Regions from separate parts of the Homo sapiens genome. Here region 2 is linked to region 1. The links are contacts of gene promoters, found by promoter capture Hi-C in human tissues and cell types (Jung and others, 2019). All regions are on one chromosome and are shown on one strand. The core of a region is centred on a gene start or on the middle of the fragment in contact, and the rest is flanking DNA. Distances in the headings are between cores, read along the strand shown.

Region 1 (2,920 bases), core at 208-2,707:
CCTCATAAAACAGACCCCGGAGAGCTCTCCCCAGCCCCTAGCGTGGGGAGATACAGGGAGAGAACTGTCTGCAACCCCGAAGCGGCCCTCACCAGACACAGAGTCGGCCAGGCCTTGGCCTCGGGACACCGGAACCGTTAGAACTGAAGGCTTCTGTGTGAGCCCCCAGGCTGTGGAGTTTTTTGTCATGGCAGCCCCAGGGGGTCACTAGGCTCCCACTTGATTCCAACTCAGCGTGAAGTCACAGCCCTGAGTGCCTTCTGCCTGGGTGCCAGCCCCGGAGCCGGGGAGCGGGGGAGCGGGGGGCGGGGAGGGGAGTGGTGGTGTGCGGGGAGTGCGGGGCGGGCGCAGGGGGTGGGGCACCGCGCTGCGGGCGGGTACTGCGGAGTCAGGCACCAAGGGTCCCTGCCTCCCTCACTGCTGAGCGCGGGCTGCAGGCTGGAATGGCTGGAGAGCCCCAGGGCTCGCCTGGACGCCCAGGGCAGGGTGCTCACGGGAGCATCGAGGGTACACGGGGAGGAACGCCGGGGTTCGGGCGACCCTAGGGGCGACGCACAGAGCTGGGCGCGGCCACTCACCTCGGTGCCTTCTAAGGACCTGGACATCCTGGGCCTTGGCGGCCTGGGGGCTCCATTCCTCCGCGCGCTGAATGGAAGAAATCCCGCCCGGGCATCTCGGAAGGAAAGCCTCGGAGTCCATTCGGCCCTGGAGCCGGATACCAACCGCCAGGGCTTTCCAGGCCCGTCCCGGGAAATGGTTTTCTTAGGCGAGTGCGAGGCGGGCCCCTCGGTTCCGATGCAGGCGCACTAGATGCCGGCAAGGCGGGGACTAGGCCTAGGGGACCTCGGTCGCCTCGAGGTCGCGGAGACCCCAAGGCCACGGAAGGACCCGCGTCTCCGCAGCCCGCACGCCGGGAAGCGTGCAGAGTCCTCGGCGGGGTCCCGAGCCCGCTGGTCAGAGCGTGGAGCGGCGGGGTGGGAGGGACGTGGTCCCCAGAGCGCGGGGCCACCGTAGGGGCCCCTGATGGGGAGGGAGGGAAGGGTCGGCCCGACGGGGTCCCAGCAGTTCCCCGCGCGCAGCCGCTCGGCTCCCTCCCCGTCCAGCTGGGAGCCGCCAGCCCTGGGCGTCCGAAGATAGCGGGTGCCCGGGGCAGCCCCCAGGGGTGCGGGCGAGGGCGCAGGGCGGCCCAGACAGTTCCCGCGTGGAAGGCGCCCGTCTAGATCCGCGACGTCTCGGACCCCCAGGCCCCCGCACCCCGTGTCCGAGGCTCCGGGACGCGCAGGACAGTGGAGCCGTGGCCGCCGCTTGCTCCCAGCCATCTGCGTCCGGGAGGCGGGGGCGGGGGCGCGGCCCGGGGAGGTGAGGAGGAGGAGCCAGGACGCGAGGGCGACCCCGTCGGCGGGAGGGCGGGGCGGGGCGGACCCTGTCTACTGGATAAGAGCCCGAGGCCGAGGCTGAGACCGCCCAGCGCTGCGGAGCGGGAGGGGAGGCTTCGCGGAACGCTCTCGGCGCCAGGACTCGCGTGCAAAGCCCAGGCCCGGGCGGCCAGGTGAGGCCAGCGTCGCTCGCGGCATCGGGGCGCCCCGCTCCTTCCGCAGACCCCGAAGTGGGGCGCAGGGGCGGGGGCCGGGGACCGGGCACAGTCTGGGGTCCCCGCGTCCCGCAGACCGCGCCGTCTCCAAAGTCGCCAACAGTCGCGGGTGCCGAGCGCCCCCCGATAGCGCCACATGGGACCCTGAGGCCGTCCGAGGCGCGAGGAGGGTGCAGGGCTGCCCCTGGCCCCGCTCCAGGCTCAGAACCGGGTGGGCACCTGGTGCAGTCACCGGCTTAGGGGACGCGTGGGTGTCTATGGCTGTGACTCGGGGGTCCTGGTTTCTTCTCGTGGAACTTAACCCTACTAGGGGTGCGGCGCATCCCAGATCCGATCGGAGTGGGTTTTGTACACCGCCGCTCCATCTCGCGGGGGCTTTGTCTGTGTTGGGGGTGGTGGCGGGCGCGGGCTGCGCGCTGGTGCTCTGGGCAGGGCGGGGAGGCCGGGCGAGGACTCGCCAGGCAGCGCCGCTTCTTGTTCTGGGCGCGGTGAGGAAGGACGCTTTCTAACGGGCCACATTTTGCTGTGTAGACCCAAAACTCGCCTCTGAGGCCCCGCGTTCAGGAGCGGGGTCAGGTGGCCCCAGGGCGGCGGCGGCTTGCCGGAGACTCGCGAGCTCCGCACCCGACGCCCTCTCCCAACGCGGCCTCCTGCTCGCGCCGCGGAACCCCTTCGTCGGGTGTTTTACCCACCGGAGGGGTCGTGCCGGTTGAGGTTGTCACCGGGTGCGTGGCATAGCTCGTGATAGCTCATGGGTGAGGTTTTGTGCAAACTTGGATGCAGGGAAAGTTGCCTGTTAGAGCCTCCACCTGCGACCTGCTTCAGTCGTTGTGTGTGTGTGCGCACCTGTGTGAGTGTGAGTGTGTATGTGTGTAAGTGTATGTGCTCGCCTGTGTGTGTGTGAGTGTGTATGTGTGTTTGTGAGTCTGTGTGTGTCTGTGTGTCTGTGTGTGCGTGCGCTCGACTGAAACACGCTGCTGCTGGATCCAAATGACAGAAGTCGCCCTGGCTGGGGCGGTGTAGACGCTCCTGCTCTCCTGCTCAGCGTTGCAGGGGGGTTTATGTAGCCGTTTGGACAGGATTTCCCGGGTTACCCTGCTGGCCCAGGAGCTAGTTCCCGCGATGAAGCCCTGTCCATCCTCCGCCCAGCTCTCTCACGCGGGGTGGTGCCACCTGCCCTAGGTGGATGTGGCTTGTACAGACACTTTTTGAGGAAGCAGTTGTGATGGTTATGTCTAAACTCTCTTTACAGTGGCTGATTTTGCTTATATAAATTTTGCTCTTTATTACTGAGTATAAACAATACAAGCCCAGGCTTGGTGGCTCATG
Region 2 (2,920 bases), core at 205-2,704, 120 kb before region 1:
GTCATTAGAAAATAATATTAGGTTGGTGCAAAAGTAATTGTGGTGTTTGCCATTACTTTCAATGGCAAAAGCCATGATTACTGTTGCACCAACTTAATATGATAAATTTGTTCCTTAAAGTGTATTTTTGGTAAGAAAAATCTTTGCTTTTCTTCTATTAATTTTTTGTTTTTGTCTTGGTAGAGACAGAGTCTTGCCATGCCGGCCAGGCTGGAGTGCAGTGCTGTGATCTCGGCTCACTGCAACCTCCACCTCCCGGGCTCCAGCAATCCTCCCACCTCAGCCTCCCAAGGAGCTGAGACTACAGGTGTGAGCCACCATGCCTGGCTAATTTTTATATTTTTTACAGAGACAGGGTTTCACCATCTTGCCCAGGCTGGTCTCAAACTCCTGGGCTCAAGCAGTCCTCCTGCCTCAGCCTCCCAGAGTATTGGGATTATAGGTGTGAGCCACTGCCAGAAAAACTTTTCCTAAGACAAGGCAGGTTTTACATTATATTTAGATTTTTTTTAATGATGTCTTTTTTGGCAGTGCACAGCCAGAGAACAACACATCACACACAGGAAACAGTTGTGCTCATGTGATGGGGGCCTCAGCACTAGGAAGGAGTGGACTATTGGCACACGCAGCAGCTTGAATAAATCTGAAAGTCACTATGCTGTGTAAGAGAAGCCAAATTTAAAAAGTGCATGCTGTGTACAGAGGGTGTCAAGAATGCCTCCTACGTGACGGAAAGCAGATCCGTGGTTGCCTGCAGACTGGCAGGAGCAGATTCCAAAGGCACAGGAAGAAGCTTGTGGGTAGAATGTGTTCATTACCTTCTGTGCATTATACCATAAAAAAGCTGGTCACAAAAATGCAAACCAAAAACAAAGGTGAAACTAGGATAAGATTTCTCACCTGTGTGATTGGTAAACGTGCAGATGTGCCGTCATGCTTTGTTTATGAAGCTGTGGGATACAAGGACTCTCATACGTCACTGTGGAATGCAGAATATTGCAGCCTCATGGAAGAGGATTTGGCAGCGTCTAACAAAACTACATGGCATTTGCCCTTTGACTCAGCAATTCTAGAATCTGCCTCAAAAAAACTCCAGCAAAGAAATGAAAGGACTTTAGGCACAGAGTTCTTTTCACAGCCTGCATGTGTTTGCAACAAAGTTCTTCACTGTGGCGTTTGTAAATGTGGGGAAAAGAGAGATCAGGCTGGTACTGTGTCTGTGTAGAAAAGGAGGACGTAAGAAACTCCATTTTGATCTGTACCCCGAGCGATTGTTTTGCCCTGAGATGCTGTTAATCTGTAACTTTAGCCCCAGCCTTGAGCTCACAGAAACCTGTGTTGTATGGAATCAAGGTTTCAGGGATCTAGGGCTGTGCAGGACGTGCCTTGTTAAGAAAATGCTTACAGGCAGTACGCTTGGTAAAAGTTATCGCCATTCTCCATTCTCGATAAACCAGGGGCACAATGCACTGCGGAAAGCCGCAGGGACCTCTGCCCAGGAAAGCCGGGTACCATCCAAGGTTTCTCCCCACTGAGATATGGCCTTGTGGGATGGGAAAGACCTGACCATCCACCAGCCCGACACCCGTGAAGGATCTGTGCTGAGTAGGATTAGTAAAAGAGGAAGGCCTCTGTCTCCTGCCTTCCCCTGGGAACGGAATGTCTCAGTATAAAACTGATCGTACATTTGTTCAATTCTGAGATAGGAGAAAAACCACCCTGTGGTGGGAGGCGAGACATGTTGGCCGCAATGCTGCTGTTACTCTTTACTCCACTGAAATGTTTGGGTGGAGAGAAGCATAAATCTGGCCTACGTGCACATCTAGACATAGTACCTTCCCTTGAACTTACTTGTGACACAGATTCCTTTGCTCACATGTTTTCTTGCTGACCTTCTCCCCACTGTCACCCTGTTCTCCTGCCACATTCCTCTTGCTGAGATAGTGAAAATAGTAATCAATAAATACTGAGGGAACTCAGAGACCGGTGCCAGTGCGGGTCCTCTGTATGCTGAGCGCCAGTCCCCTGGGCCCACTTTTCTTTCTCTATACTTTGTCTCTGTGTCTTATTTCTTTTCTCAGTCTCTCATCCCGCCTGATGAGAAATACCCACAGGTGTGGAGGGGCTGGTCCCCTTCATTCTATAGTTATTATAAATGTACAGGAACATCAAAAGGAACTTGTTTGTATAATGTCACAGTACAAGGTACGTAGCCCAGGAAATGACCAATCTGATGGGTGTTATAACCCATCCAAGCCCCCTGCGACCACCGTTTTTAAAATAAAAAACTGGTCCTTTCCTTGGCGATACAAGTAAAATAATAACTAGAAGAGAAGAAAAAGAAATTCCCAAACAAGTAACTTTAAAATTTGATGCTTGTGCAGCCATTAATGGTAACAAGCTAGAATTAAAATGGAGTTCTCTTAACTAGGAAAAGAGCTACACAGTAAAAAATAAATATGTTTGTCATAAGTCAAGGATCTGTGAAAATTGTGCCTATTGGCCATGTGTTATTTAGGCTACTTAAAAAAAGGACAAAAAAGACCCAGTTCACCTTCAAAAAGGGGAAGCCAATCTCTCCTGTGCTGCCGGTCACTGTAACCCACTAGAACTAATAATCTCTAATCCCCTAGACCCCCACTGGAAGAAAGGAGAACATGTAGGCCTGGGGATTGATGGGACAGGGCTAAACCCCCAAGTTGCTATTTTAGTCCGAGGGGAGGTCCACAGGCACTCTCCCAAACCAGTGTTTCAAGCCTTTTATGATGAGCTGAATCAGCCAGCACCAAAGCTTCAGAAAAAGACAGAGCCACACACACCCTGCATCACCCAGGCAGGGAAAATGAGCTGGGCTGTGGGTGCTGGGAAAGCCATGCCTGCAGCCCCCTTCAGAGTCAGGCTGCACTGCACAGGGAGCCTG

Evidence for each region. Contacts are between HindIII fragments. The study calls those that stand out against the background at their distance.
Region 2: a fragment that was not itself captured here is called in contact with the fragment with the promoter of SLC6A3 in region 1 in 5 of the 25 tissues and cell types used here (H1 embryonic stem cells, lymphoblastoid cells, mesendoderm cells and 2 more).

What each region holds. Positions count from the first base shown.
Region 1 is chr5:1,443,977-1,446,896 of GRCh38, reverse strand. SLC6A3 (solute carrier family 6 member 3) reads left to right here and starts at 1,457. Exons shown (of 15, transcript NM_001044.5): 1 at 1,457-1,549. RefSeq lists an enhancer at 320-819. The HindIII fragment of the contact is 20,714 bases long and covers 1-2,920 here.
Region 2 is chr5:1,566,610-1,569,529 of GRCh38, reverse strand. No RefSeq gene overlaps it. Among named protein-coding and RNA genes, the nearest start is that of LPCAT1, 44 kb to the right of the region's middle. RefSeq lists an enhancer at 2,840-2,920. The HindIII fragment of the contact is 6,111 bases long and covers 1-2,920 here.